Linked DNA regions of Homo sapiens: regions 2 and 3 are each linked to region 1. Evidence: promoter capture Hi-C in 16 types of primary human blood cells and fetal thymus (Javierre and others, 2016). All regions are on one chromosome and are shown on one strand. Each heading gives the region's core, a stretch centred on a gene start or on the middle of the fragment in contact. The rest is flanking DNA. Distances are from core to core; before and after follow the strand shown.

Region 1 (5,115 bases), core at 1,880-4,379:
CAGCACGTTGGGAGGCTGAGGCGGGTGAATCACCTGAGGTCAGGAGTTCGAGACCAGCCTGGGCAACATGGTGAAACTCTGTCTCTACTAAAAATACAAAAATTAGTCGGGTGTGGTGGTGCGTGCCTGTGGTCCCAACTACTCATGAGACTCAGGCACAAGAATCCCTTCAACCTAGGAGACGGAGGTTGCAGTGAGCCGAGATCACACCACTGCACTCGAGCCTGGGCAACACAGTGAGACTCTGTCTCTAAACAAAAACAAACAAACAAAAACCCAAAAAACAACAACCACAAAAATCAAGAATCAAAAGCTTGTTCTTGGTGAAAGACATCAGTCTGTGTGGTTTTACAAATAATTTCTTTCTTTATATAAATTATTTTAAAAGATAGAAAATGAAGGAAATCTGCCAATTTATTTTATAAGATGAGTTTTACTATTACTAGATAAGGACAGTAAAAGAAAATTGTAAGCCAGGCACAGTGGCTTACACCTGTAATTCCAGCACTTTGGGAGGCTGAGGTGGGAGGATCACTTGAGCCCAGGAGTTCCATACCAGCCAGAGCTATAAAGTGAGACCCTGTTTCTACAAAAAGTCAAAAAATTAGCCAGGCGTGGTGGTGCACACCAGTGGTCCCAGCTACTCAGGAGGTTGAGGCAGGAGGATTCCTTGAGCCCAGGAGGCCGAGGCTGCAGTGAACAGTGATCTCACCGCTGCACCAGCCTGGTCTCCAGTGAGACCCTGTCTTAAAAAGGAAGGGAAGGAGAGGAAAGAGAGAGAGAGAAAGAAAATTGTAGACTAATTTCATTTCATTTTTTTTTTTTTTTTTTTTTGACAGAGAGAGTCTTGCTGTGTCGCCAGGCTGGAGTGCAATGGTGTGATCTCACCTCACTGCAACCTCCACCTCCCAGATTCAAGCGATTCTCCCGCTTCAGCCTCCCAAGTAGCTGGGACTACAGGAACGTGCCACCACGCCCGGCTAATTTTTGTATTTTTAGTGGAGATGAGGTTTCACCATGTTGGCCAGGATGGTCTCAATCTCTTGACCTCGTGATCCGCCCGCCTCAGCCTCCCAAAGTACTGGGATTACATGTGTGAGCCATCACGCCCGGCCTAATTTCAGTTCTTAAAAAGACAGGGAAAATACAAATGCTAGCAAGATCAAACCAGAGGTGAATAAAAATATCGTAACCACAAAAGGTTTATCCAGGAATAAAAGAATGGTTCTACATCAGAAAATCTACTGTAATAGCACTGCATTGGCAGAGTAAAGGAGAAAAATCACATAGTCTTAATAGTCACAGAAAAAGCATTTTATAGTATTCTTAGGTTGGATTCCCTTAGAGACTGACCCTGAGGCAAGGATTTGAGTGTAAGTGGTTTATTTGGGAGTGAGTAGGGAGTAGAAAATTAAGACAGAGGAGGGGCTGGGCACCATGGCTCACACCTGTAATCCCAACACTTTGGAAGGCTGTGGTGGGAGGATAGCTTGAGGCCAGGAGTTCAAGACCAGCCTTGGCAATGTAGCAAGATCCTATCTCTACAAAAAATACAACGTGGTAGCACATGGGCATAGTCCCAGCTATGAGGAGGTGGAGGTGGGAGGATAGCTTGAGCCTGGGATTCAAGGCTGCAGTGAGGTATGACCATACCACTGCACTCCAGCCTAGGAGACAGAGTGAGATCCTGTCTCAAAAAAAAAAAAAAGAAAAAAGAAAAAAAAAATTAATGTCAGGGCACAGTGGCTCATACCCGTACTCCCAGCACTTTGTGAGGCCAAGGCGGGTGGATCACTTGAGGGCAGGCATCAAGACCACCCTGGCCAACATGGTTAAACCTCATCTCTACTAAAAATACAAAAATTGGGCTGGGTGCAGTGGCTCACGCCTGTAATCTCAGCACTTTGGGAGGCCGAGGCAGGCGGATCACAAGGTCAGGAGATGAAGACCATCTTGGCTAACACGGTGAAACCCGTGTCTACTAAAAATACAAAAATTAGCCGGGAGTGGCGGAGTGTGCCTGTAGTCCCAGCTGCTGGGGAGGCTGAGGCAGGAGAATGGTGTGAACCTGGGAGGTGGAGCTTGCAGTGAGCCGAGATCGCGCCACTGCACTCCAGCCTGGGAGACAGAGCGAGACTCCATCTCAAAAAATAATAATAATAAAAATAAAATAAAATAAAAAATAAAAAATAAAAACAAAAATTTAGCTGGGCGTGGGGGTGCATGCCTGTAATTCCAGATACTCGGGAGGCTGAGGCAGGAGATTCGCTTGAATCCAGAAGACAGAGGTTGCCGTGAGTCAAGACTGTGCCATTATAGTCCAGCCTGGATGATAAGAGTGAAACTCTGTCTCAAAAAAAGAAAAAAAAGAGGCAGGGCTCAATGGTTCAGACCTGTAATCCCAGCACTTTGGGAGGCCAAGACGGGCGGATCACAAGGTCAGGAGATGAAGACCATCCTGGCTAACGTGGTGAAACCCCGTCTTTACTAAAAATACACAAAATTAGCCGGGCGTGTTGGTGGGCGCCTGTCGCCTGTAGTCCCAGATACTCAGGAGGCTGAGGCAGGAGAATGGCGTGAACCCGGGAGGCGGAGCTTGCAGTGAGCAGAGCTCGCGCCACTGCACTCCAGCCTGGGTGACAAGGCAAGACTCTTGTCTCAATTAAAAAAAAGAAAAGAAAAAAGAAAAACTTCCTCTCTTTGGCATTATTATACTGTAGTTATTCTAGGCTCTTTTAGTACTTTTCCATGTGTTTTTCAATTTTTCTTCTTTCTAATAAATGATTTAGGCTATAAATGCTCTGAAAACCACTTGGGCTGTGTAGCAGTTTTCCTATGTAGCACATTCTCTCATTCATTTCTGAACAGCCTGTGGATCTCCTTTAGAACTGATTGTATTTTAGTGACATAAGGATAATCACGTTACCAAGAGGTTTCGGACAGCAGATATCTATCTATAGCATAGCTGGAAAAATTAAGAAGCAGCAATTTTAATTTTTGACTGTTTCCTCTGACGTGTTTACCTTCACTGCTGCCAGATCTCAGACACTATATCCAACATTCTACTTCTGAGGCAGGGTTCTGTATTCTATTTCTGGTTGCCAGAGCCTTCAGTTGACACAGTACTAAGATGAGACTGAAGCAAGGATCGTTTCTGTGGTACCTCTATCTGGACAAAATATACTGCTTATTATCCGTGAGAAACGTGAAGGCTTTGGCAGAATATTTTCATATTCTGGACGTGCACGGCAAGAACACCTTGAATGGTCAGTACTTTCAGACATGTCTCCTCTGGGTCCTTACCTGGGTTTTAGCTAATGTGTAAGAAAACTTGCAGAGCCAGAAACTATTTTGTTAGTACATTTTTTTTTTTTTGAGACGGAATCTCGCTCTATTGCCCAGGCTGGAGTACGATGGCGCGATCTCAGCTCACTGCAATCTCCGCCTCCAGGGTTCAAGCAATTCTCCTGCCTCAGCCTCCTGAGTAGCTGGGATTACAGGTGTCTGCCACCACGCCTGGCTAATTTTTTGTATTTTCGGTAGAGATGACCAGACCATGTTGGCCAGGCTGGTCTCAAACTCCTGACATCAGGTGATCCACCCGCCTCCGCCTCCCTAAGTACTGGGATTACAAGTGTGAGCTACCACACCCGGCCTGTTAGTAAATATTTTATCTTCTAGTTGAAGCACAGAGAGAAGTTGCCAACTCAGAATTGACACGGGGGACAGTTCAGCCGGGAGGAGAAAATTGCAGACTCTGGTGGAATCCTGGCTCCACACCCATTATTCCTTGGTGATGTGGATAACACGTCATCGCCCTCTCTAAGTCTCATTTTCCTCATCTAGAGGTGAGGCTTCTCATAATGGAGTCCATCTCATAGTTGGAAAAAAAAAAGATAATGAGAGTATGGCAAATGCTTAGCACAGTGTCTGACACATCGTAAGGACTTAATAAGTGTTTGTTATTATTGTAATTATTATTCTTGGGAGCTGAGCCCCACTCAGGCATTAACTCTGGAGACCCCTCAGCAAGATTTATCTGTCATGTGGGAAGTTTGAATCTGATGAGCTGCAGGATCCCTTCTACTTATTGGTACTTGTGAATGACCAAAAATAAATAAATAAATAAATAAATAAATAAAAATAAATAAATAAATAAATAAATATAAAAGCTGCAGATCTCAGCCATGCTTGTTGAGTTCACAAACTAATAGAAGTCCAATTAAACACTTGAGGTTATTTTTAGGACTGAGTAGAAATAAGGTATCCTATCCATTCACTCGTTCTGACCTCAGAGAGAGAAATGTCATCCGTGAGTAAGGGGTTCCTCCGTCATGATTTTAAGGAGTTCATTCAATTTTTAAAAACAATTAAAAAAGAACACCTTCTTTCTCTCTTTACATAGAGATTTATGTACAGTGCATTGCCAAATCTTCGCAATAACCCTGCCCTAGATAAGGCAGCTGCAGGGGACCTAGTTGTAAATAAAAGGCTGAGATGGAAACGCAGGGCTCTCTGCCTGCAAAGCCCATGCTGAGTCTCTCTGGGATGCTTGAGGAGTTTAAGCTCCCTGGTAACCTCCCTGCTGATGCAGTACCCAGGAGGTAACGCCATGCTCATGTCTTCTGGTCACAGAGGGACTGGAGAGTGACCTGGAAGGGTGAAGGCACAGCCTTAATGTTTGCCTTCCTGTGGGGGAATGACTTAAGGTTTTGGAGACTTGGGTGAGCCAGAGTCCACCGGTTTCAAAACAGTCTTTTATTTATTTATTTATTTATTTATTGGGACGGAGTCTCGCTCTGTCGCCCAGAAGTGCAGTGGCCCAATCTTGGCTCATTGCAACCTCCACCTCCCGGGTTCAAGTGATTCTCCTGCCTCAGCCTCCTGAGTAGCTGGGACTACAGCTGTGCACCACCACACCCGCTAATTTCTGTATTCTTAGTAAAGACGGGCGGGGTTTCACTATGTTGGCCAGGCTAGTCTCTGTTGGCCAGGCTAGTCTCGAACTCCTGACCTCAAGTGATCCGCCCACCTCAGCCTCCCAAAGTGCTGGGATTACAGGCGTGAGCTATCACACCCGGCCTCAAAACAGTCTTTGTTAAGTAATTACTAAGT
Region 2 (5,115 bases), core at 1,123-3,622, 310 kb before region 1:
TCCACTGCAAACTGGGTAAGTCATGATGCCTCATCAATCACCGCATCCACTTCTTTACCCAGCTGCTTTATGGACAAAGCCAGGGTCTCCCAACTGCTTTGTAGATCCAGGGATCTGGAAGCAGCATTTCCACATCACGGCTTTTCTGTAACCCTCATCTCCTAAGAGGACAAGTTCACATAGGGCAGAGGGGGAAAGACTCAGGCCTCTGAGGCTGAGACATGATCTCTGGCAGAAGCAGGGGTACGGAAGCACTGAGTCCAGGAGAGGATACTAAGCATGCTTCAAGCAGGGGTGGCGATGCTTCCAGCAGGGGTGGCGAAAGAGTCCAGGAGTGACTCCTGGAAGTGAGTGTCTCCTCTCTGCTCTGGACCACATAACCAAAAGAAGAAAGCCAGCCTAATACTTGGTATATGCTCTTACAGGAAAGCATGTTGTCATCTCTACAATGAACAGCAATAGGAATAGAACACCCTTAACAAAAATTAGCTTTCCTGCCTAATTTGCGCAAACATGTCTACAATAAAAGTAGTTTGAAATACAGCATGTAAAAATGTAAGTTTGTGTATGCCTCTCCCAGAGGAGGATGTCAATCTCAGACTTTCTCAGGGAAGGCTTACAAGTTAAGAACAATGAAGCCAGATCACTCACCTCACCGTAGAATCTGAAGAGCCAGTTACAATGACACGCTCATCATACTGCAGACAGAGGACAGAGCCTGTGTGTCCTGTTAACACTTTCAAACATTCCAGGCTGGTTTTATCCCATATCTATTGAGACAAGATTAGCCACAAACGATGATTAATTATACTATATTTTGATGAATGTTACTGTCCCACCTTATGTTCTGATTATAAAATAAAACACACTTGGGTTACAGTAAATAAGAAACACTGAATAACAAACAGGTAAGAAATGACAAGAAGGAATACAGACAATAGTGATTAACTACTAGGATAGATGTGCTATTTTGCTTAATTTGAACCCTTAGCTATTGATCTCAGTATACTTATCAACAGCCTCATAAAGGGGACTTCTTAAAAATAAAATCTGTGAAAAGAATTCGCTCACTGACTGGGTGCTGTGGCTCATGCCTATAATCCCAACATTTTGGGAGGCCGAGACAGAAGGATCGCTTGAGCCCAGAAGTTAAAAGACCAGCCTGGGCAACATACCAAGCCAATCTCCATAAGAGTGTGTGAGTGTGTGTGTGTGTGTGTGTGTGTGTGTGTAAGAGAGAGAGAGTGTGTGTGTGTGTGTGTGTGTGTGTGTGTTTTAATTAGCCAGGTGTGGTGGTGTGTGTGCCTGTAGTCCCAACTACTCAGGAGGCTGAGGTGACAGAATTGCTTGAGCCCAGAAGGCAAGGCTGCAGTGAGCCATAATCACACCACTGTACTCCGGCCTGGGCAACAAAGCAGGACTCTGCTTTGTCATTTTATTTTTATGTCTCATAAAAATATTAATGAAAAAGAATTGGCTCACTCTCTGGAAAGCAACATGACAACGTCTATTAAGAGGTTTTACAAATGCATACCCCTACGTTTACAAAAACAAAAAGTGGAAAATGAAATGTCCAGCATTTCATAAAAGTCTCAAAGTAAACTATGAAGTGTTTAATGAGAAAATATCATGCTTTATTACAAAGTTAAGCATTTTAAAAATCAGAACAAAAATTATCTGTAAAGTGACACAATGACTATGTATATTTTAGAAAAGGAAGAAAGGATTAAAGGAGGTAAAATGTTGTGAACAGTTGTTTTCACACTCTGAGTGTTCCTTTTCTCGCTTCTTTTACTGCCTCCATAGACTTGTCTTTTCTAGAATGTCACAGATTTGGAATCATACAGTATGTAGCCTTTTTAGATTGGCTTCTTTCACACAGTAATACACACTTACGGTTCCTCCCTGTCTTTTCATGGCTTGATATACATTCCTTTTTAGTGCTGAAAATTATCCCACTGTCTAGATGTACTACAGTTTATTTATCCATTCACCTACTGAAGGACACCTTGGTTGCTTCCAAGTTTGGGCAATTATGGGTAAAGCTGCCATAAACATCTGGGTGCAGGTTTTTGTGTAGACCTAAGTTTTCAATTCTGTTGTGTAAATACTAAGTGGTATATATGGTAAAAGTATGTTTAGTTTCGTAAGAATGCCAAACTGCCTTCTGAAGTGGCTGTACTATTTTCCATTTCCAACAGCAATGAATGAAAGTTCCTGTTCCTATTGCTCCACATTCTCACCAGCATTGGGTGTTGTCAGTGTTCTGGATTTTGGCCATGCTAACAGGTGTGTAGTAGTGTCTCACTGTTATAATTCACATTTCTCTGATGACTTACAATGTGTAACATCTTTTCACATACTTACAATATGCCATCTGTATATCCTTCTTTGGTGAGATGTCTGTTAAGGTCTATGCCTTATTTTTAAAAATCAGGTTAAGCTAATTGTTTTTTTTCTTACTGTTGAGATTCAAGAGTTCTTTGTATGTCTTTTGCATACATTTTCTCTAGTCTGTGGCTTGTTTTTTCATTCTCCAGACAATGTCTCTCACAGAGCAGAAATTTTTAATTTTAACAAAGTCCAGCTCATTAATTCTTTCTTTCATGGGTCATGGCTTTGGTATTATATCTAAAAAGTCATCAACAAATTCAAGATCATCTAGATTCTCTCCTATGTTACATTCTGTGAATTTTAAGATTTTGTGTTTTACAGTCAGGTCTTTAATCCATTTTGAGTTAATTTTTGTGAAGTATATAGGATCTATGTCTAGACTGTTTAAGGGTAAGGGAGGCAATATGGTGTCTAATTGCTTCTGCCCCATTTGTTGAAGACACAATCTTTTCTCTACTGTATTGTCTTTGCTCCTTTGTAAAAGATCAGCTGACTATATTTATGAAGGTATATATTTCTGGGCTCTCTATTCTGTTCCATGGATCTAGCTGTCCATTCTGTTGCCAGCACCACACCACTGTGATGACTGCAGTTTTACAGTAATTCTTCAAGTAGGGTAGTGTTAGTCCTCTGTCTTTATTCTACTTCAGTATCATGCTGGTTTTTGCTTGTCCATATAAACATTACAGTCAGCTGGTAGATATCCACAAAATCACTTGCTGGGATTTTGATTGAGACTGCATTGAACCTACAGACCAATTTGGGAAGAAATGACTGACATCCTCACAATAGTCTTCCTACCCATGAGCATGAAATATCTCTCCCCATTTATTTAGTTCTTTGATTTCTTTAATCAGTTTTATAGTTTTCTTCACATAGATCTTATAAATATTTTGTTAGATTTATACCTAAGTATTTCATTGGTGGGGGAGGTGCTAATATAAATGTTATTGTGTTTTTTGAGATGGAGTCTCACTCTGTCACCCAGGCTGGAGTGCAATGGCGCGATCTCGGCTCACTGCAACCTCCGCCTCCCAAGTTCAAGCTATTGTCCTGCCTCAGCCTCCTGAGTAGCAGGACTATAGGCGCCCACCACCACACCCGGCTAATTTTTGTATTTTTAGTGGAGACGGAGTTTCACCATGTTGGCCAGGCTGGTCACAAACTCCTGACCTCAGATGATCCACCCACCTCGGCCTCCCTAAAGTGCTGGGATTATAGGCGTGAGCCACCGCGCCCAGCCATGTTATTGTGTTTTTAATTTCACATTCCACTTGTTCATTGCTGCTATATGGGTAAGCAACTGACTTAAGTATATTAACCTTGTATCCGGCAAACTTGCTATAATCATTTATTAGTTCTAGGAGGTTTTTTTTGTTGATGCTTTCATTTTTTTCTACAATCATGTCATCTACAAGCAAAGACAGTTTTAATTCTTCCTTCTCAATTTGTATACCTTGTCTTAGTGTGTTATCTAGGAGTTCTAATACAATGTTGAAACATAGTGGTGAGTGGGGACATCTTTGTCTTATTCCTGACCTTAGTGGGAAAGTTTCACATTTCTCAGCACTGTGTGTGACGTTAGCTATAGGCTTTTTGTAGATACTCTTTATCAAGTTAAGGAAGTTCCCCTCTATTCATAGTTTACTAAGGGTTTTTATCACGAAAGAGTGTTCAATTTTCTCAAACGCCCTTTCTGCATCTATTGACGTGATTTTCTTCTTTGGCTTATTGATATGACGGATTAATTGATTTTTGAAGGTTAAACATGAAGATATTGGTCTGTGGTTTTCTTTGAATGTCTTCATCTAGTTTAGTACTAAGGTAACAATGGCCTCATAGAATGAGTGATGAAATATTCTCTCTTCTTCTATCTTCTGGAAGAGATTGTAGAGAACTGGTGTAATTTCTTACTTAAATGTTTGACAGAATTCACCAGTAACTCATCTGGGCCTGGTGCTGTTTTGGAAAGTAATTAATTATTGACTCAATTTCTTCAACAGATAAAGGCCTATTCAGATTACCTATTTGTTTTTATGTCAATTTTGGAAGACTGTGTCTTTCAGGGAATTAATTCATTTCATATAAATTATCAAATTTGTAAACAGGGAGTTGATCATATTATTTTATTATTCATTTAACGCTCATGAGAGCTATAGTGATGTCTCCTCTTTCATTTCAATATTAGGAATCTGAGTGCTTTTTTTTCTATGTTAGCATAGCTAACGTAATTATCAATTTTACTCATCTTTTCAAAGACACATCTTTTGGTTTCCTTACCTATTTCTATGGATTTCCTGTTATCAATTTCATTGATCTCTGCCCTACTTTTCATTAACTCTTTTATTCTGCTTACTACGGATTTAAACTGTTCTTTTTCTAGTTTCCTAAGGTGGAAGCTTAGATGACTGATTTTTAGTCTTTTTTCTAATATATGCACTCAATACTATAAAATTCTAAGCTTTCACTGCATCCCACAGATTTTGATAACTTGGGCTTTCATTTTCATTTAGTTACACCCACCCACACATGCACACATGTGCACACACACAGCGAAGGAGGAGGGAGAGAAAGTCTCACACCGTCACTCAGGCTGAAATACAGTGACACAATCACAGCTTACTGCAGCCTTTGACCTCCCGGGCTCAGGTGATCCTCCCACCTCAGCCTCTTGAGTAGCTGGGACTACAGACGCATGCCACAATGCCCAGCTAATGTTTT
Region 3 (5,115 bases), core at 918-3,417, 300 kb before region 1:
CTGGGGAGGGAGGGGGGACATAAACAGCCACTTGACATTCCAAGTGTCATTTATCTTTCTGCAATGTGCTTAAAACCCTACTACTTTCCCATAACTGGACTAAAACAGGGCCCACTAATCAGATCTTAACTCATACCCTTTTTTCAACGAACAGTCAAGGACACTGCGTATTCACACAATTAGAGAAAGAGGCAAAGGCCACCTTGAAATTCAGCAGGCATAAAACATGCCTCTTTCTCCCTCACTTCCTGAATTTTCCACTCTGAAAATGACAAACAACAACTCTCAGCCTGGATAGAGCTAGACAGACCTCAGTTAAAAGCCCATCCCATCTCTTCTACTTAACTATGTAGCAAGTCCTAAAACTTCTTTTAGTCTCAGTTTCCCCTTATTATAAAGATAATAACATGCACCTTGTTGTAAGAATAAAAAACAATCATCTATGTAAATCACCCAACGTGGTTTGATATATGCAAAAACTCGAAGTGGGTATTTGTAATTATTATAGTCTGCTTGTGAGGATTTCATACCAGTCATACGGACAGAGCCAAGCCCGTGAGAGGCTCTCATTTGATCCATGGATCACTGGAAGAACTCTCTACATAAAACTCTATATATTCTGTTTTATTCCAGACAGAATAAAACACACTCTCAAAATGGGAGTAAAAAAAAATCTATTTTGAGGTGGTAGCAGTGGTCTATTGTTAAAAACTCGTATTAAGGGTAGAAGGGTACATGGTTGATCACAGACTCTCAATTACCCACTAGCTGTGTGATCCTGACTAAACTGTTTAACCTTTTTAACCTTCTAAGGTTTCCTCAAATTTAAATAAGTACTTGGCCTACCTTTCAGGTTTTGTCCAAAATGTTAAAAGAGAAAATGCATTATAAAGTAGTTAACAAAGTATCTGGCATAAGTAAATGCTATTAGTGGTACATTACTTTTATGATTATTACTAGTAGCACATATATCAAAGTATAAACATCATCCCTTATATCAAGAGGTCTAGCCCACAAAAATCTGGAGAAGACTTTTGTGGCCAACCAGTGGGTTTTTCCAAACCACACTTTAAGAACCACTGGGTAGACCACCATGATGTAGAGGCTGTGTCGCACAGGGTTTTCCCACAGAGCTGTTTCCCCTCACACCTGCCTCCTCTCCTACTTTAAACTATCATTTCAGCCTGAAGAAGTGATGATGGCAGGTGGTGTCAGATACTGTCATGCCACAGAATACTGAATTCACATTGTCAATTCTAACAGCAGTCATGAGGATTCAATCAAACTATCTATGTTGCCACATCTTCAACCTGATCAGAGTTCTTCAAGGTTCCTGTTTGTTCATAATTAACTTTAAACATCATTCTTTTCAAAGAATTTTTTTGATAAAATTATTCAAAGAAGTCTGGAAATAACTTTGTAAATAGTTGCCCCTCATCAAGTGAAAAAAAAAAACAGAGGGTAATGTAGTTTATAAGATGTGTACATAAGAAATGCCTTAGTACAACTACCTGGGGTAAGAGACAGCCCCATCTCCCCTACAATACACACACATCAACCTAAGATTAAAGTTAACACCATGTCTCAGCCACTAGCACTGTAGGGGCAACTTATTCTAAGTTTGGAACTGCCAATGGTCAATTAATTCTTAAACTTTATGATTTATCTAGTGAAAGTTTTTATTTAACCTCCTTAAAGGGTTACTTTATAGATCATTTCAGAGAGCAGAATATTCAAGACAGTTTGGGCTTTAAATAATGATATTCCAGTCACATTCAGATTTACCATTAATGGAATGATTCCATTATTCACATCTGCCTGGAAGGGTGGTGGGGTCTGAAAAAGCACATGTTTCTCCGTTAATGAATTTTGGCACAATAACTTTTATGTCTATCACCTGGGGGAGAGGATTACTTCACATTTGGGAAACTGAGTATAACTTTATGGGTGATATTGCATTGCCTAGCAAAGGCTAAAGTTTTCTGCCAAGGAGGAAACAGTGAAGTAACCAAGACCTGCCAAGAACACATGTGAAAGAGTTAATGAGAAATGCCTGTGCATGTCTTTCCTGGTTCAAGGAAAAAGGCTAAAATAGTAAAACTGAACTAATTAGAACACATGAACGATATCAAACATCTCCAATGTTTCTCATCAAGTTTACAGAGTTTTACTGGTCTGGTGAAGTTACGCTCAAATCCAAAATGGTCCAGGAGCATAATTTGCCCTATAAAATCCACTTAACTATTGCTTAGAATGATATCTGAGTCATGTTTATGAAAAACTATGAGTAATGTACAGAGAAAACTTGAAATGTGCCTTCTCTAGTTCTCTAGAGATGGCTCAAAAATGTAAAACAATGCTTACTTAAAAAAACGGGGCCTTGGATTTTGGAAAATTTATCAGCTTAGAATAAAAAGATGATTTTAGATTAAGGTTTGAATTAACCGGCAGCCTTGCAGAAGCATTTCATGTTTTAGAAAAGTTAGATATTCTTTGCAAAAGACATTATTTTCTCTGCAGAATAGCTGCAGATTATATACAACATGACACATTTACTCCAAAAGCTCAACTTTTTAAAAAAAATTATTAGTTCTACGATTTTAGACCAAAAGAACACTCTAAGGCAACATAAAAAGTTGAGAACAAGAAACAAAGAGCCCATAAAACAGATAAATCATAAAGTTACCTCTATATCCTGGATAATCTTTGGGTATAATGACCTATAAAATGAATTTGGAGGGCCATCTGTGGGTCTGTTTTTAAACAGGTACTGATCCCTGGCAAATAAAAACAAACAGATGTTACATTTTTGCACATAAAAGGGTGAATTTTATCTAAACATGGTGCTGACAAAGATATATCTTTCATGTCTTTTAATTTGCATTGAGTTTTAACAGTTCAAAAGCAGGATTTCTGACAAATTTACATGTTACAGACAAGTTTAGCTCAATTCACAGCTCTCTAACAAAATCCTGATCGTGTTTTCTGAGTACTAATATGTAACAATCTAGCCTTTCATTCCATAGAGTTTAATAAAAAGCGCTAATGTAGCTTTGTGAAAAATCTAACTTAGTACACATCAAACTTCCTCCCGTAAGGAAAATACAGCCCTATATGCACCTCTGTCTGTAGCTCTCTCTCTTTGCTAACTGGGCCATACAGCATACAGCTAGCTATAAAGCTGCATCAGAGTTATGAGTTTTCTCTGAAAAATCCTATCACTGTTATTACTTCCTCAACCAGCAGTAATAACAAACAGCAAAATGGCACTATCTGACTTTCTCATATTTTTGTCATATCTATATTTTGGTAATGGTATCATCAACTAAGCAAAATGTGAAGGAAAAAACATAAATACATAGCTTTGAAACGCCAAATCCCATCAAACTATATAATACAGTTCATAAAGGAAATACACATTTCAGAGGGAGAAATTTTAACAGCTTTAACTTTTTCTTCCAACTTTTGACCACTCATTTTCCCCCCTTTTTAAAAATAGGCCAGCACATTTGCAAGTATAATTGCATTTTTGAGTAATCAAGCTGACTCTATGTCAATAAAATTTTTTCAAGGGAACAAGCAACCCAAGTACTTACCACCCTCTTCTTTCTGAAAGTCCTTTCCATAGGGGATCAGTGCGTACCATTCGTTCAATCAGCTTCTTCCAAAGCATTCCTTCTGAGATCACTCGCTGCCATTCTTTACATACCAGCTCTGCTGCACACAGAGACCTGGCATCCAGGTACGAAAGAATGTTTTCTGCTATGTGATCTAAGCCTTGCTCTACAAAACAGAAAAGGGAATGAAGGAACGGGAAGAGAGATAGAAAGGTACCAGCCATCATTTCCTTAAAGATAAGAGGAATAAAGAAATCCTGAACCAAGTAAAATATTTTAGTCATATCAAAAGTTCTACAGATACTCAAATCCATGAGTACATAAACATATACACTTCTTTTTGGTTCTGATTTTTTACGATAAAACAATTGATAGCAACTCTTCTCTGTGTGTAAAAGCTGACCTTGGACAGTTCTGTTATTTGTCAAATATTAAGATAAGACTTTTCATTTTCTTTTATATAACTCTCACAGCACTCCTATAGGGCAATGACGCCCCAAGTTTGACAGATGAAGCACAGAAAGGTAAAGAACTCAAGATTTTACACTCCCTTGGCTTTACTACTGGAACTCGGATTTCTTGCTTCAAAGTTTGTGTTCATTCCCATCTTACTCACTGTCTCTCATAACAAATCATATCCCCATTAATCCATACCCGGTGTGAATCCCTGGGAGATCAGAAGACAAAAAAGGCAAAACACCGACTCATCTTGAAAAACTTATGAAAAGTTAAATGGCAATCCAAGAATTAAAGTCGATTGTGCTTAAATGTATTTTTGTCAATCTTTTCATCTCCCTTTCGTGAGTATCCATTTTCTGTTCCTAAACAGATGGGACAATCCTCAAAAGCAATAGCCCCATGTCTACAAATCCTAGAATCTTAGAGGTCATTGGCTTCAACCTCCCACGATACAAGGATACTCTCAAAGAAAACCACTTTCAGCCTCTGCCTGACATTCACAATGGGAAGATGATCAACATGGCCACCACTGTTGCCACCTGTAAACTCCCATCCTGTGGCGGTAAGTATGTCTTCTACAGTTGCAAGAAATAAAGCTTCTCCCCAAGCTTATTCTGTGTAGGGACGAGAACACAGAACTTATCATCAGAAAATTCCCATTTCAAGTCCCAGGTTCACCACTTACTAGTTCTATGACATGAAACAAACACTGAAACATCCCTGTGCCTTGAATTTTTGTGCCCTAACATACAAAATGGTAATCACCAGTAACAACTATCCTTTCTTACACTGTCTGTCAGAATCAAATTCAACAGTTTTATGAAAACATTTTATAGACAAGCACTCTACAAGGTTAATATCTGTTCTCTTTTCTCAAAATAATTAGAAGTAGTATAATAGCACTAAACTTGGTTGTTGAAAGGCCAGATGTAGGTAAATTATTAAACTTTCAGAGTCAGTTTCCTCATCTGTATAAGATTACGATAATCTCTACTTGATTCTGAAAATATCAAAATGAGATGATGCATGAAAAATGCTT

What was found. The method cuts DNA at HindIII sites, captures the fragments that hold promoters and counts their contacts. A CHiCAGO score of 5 or more calls a contact.
Region 2: a fragment that was not itself captured here is called in contact with the fragment with the promoter of EFCAB9 in region 1 in 1 of 17 cell types (total CD4 T cells); the score reaches 6.1 in total CD4 T cells.
Region 3: a fragment that was not itself captured here is called in contact with the fragment with the promoter of EFCAB9 in region 1 in 2 of 17 cell types (naive CD8 T cells and total CD4 T cells); the score reaches 6.0 in naive CD8 T cells.

Annotation. Positions count from the first base shown.
Region 1 is chr5:172,191,043-172,196,157 of GRCh38, forward strand. EFCAB9 (EF-hand calcium binding domain 9) reads left to right here and starts at 3,130. Exons shown (of 4, transcript NM_001171183.2): 1 at 3,130-3,266. The coding sequence starts at 3,131. The HindIII fragment of the contact is 7,932 bases long and covers 312-5,115 here.
Region 2 is chr5:171,877,360-171,882,474 of GRCh38, forward strand. It overlaps FBXW11 (F-box and WD repeat domain containing 11), which reads right to left. Exons shown (of 14, transcript NM_001378974.1): 8 at 652-770. Among named protein-coding and RNA genes, the nearest start is that of SMIM23, 94 kb to the left of the region's middle. The HindIII fragment of the contact is 4,838 bases long and covers 1-4,791 here.
Region 3 is chr5:171,896,318-171,901,432 of GRCh38, forward strand. FBXW11 (F-box and WD repeat domain containing 11) reads right to left here. Exons shown (of 14, transcript NM_001378974.1): 5 at 3,597-3,783; 6 at 2,687-2,777. Among named protein-coding and RNA genes, the nearest start is that of FBXW11, 110 kb to the right of the region's middle. The HindIII fragment of the contact is 5,005 bases long and covers 1-4,670 here.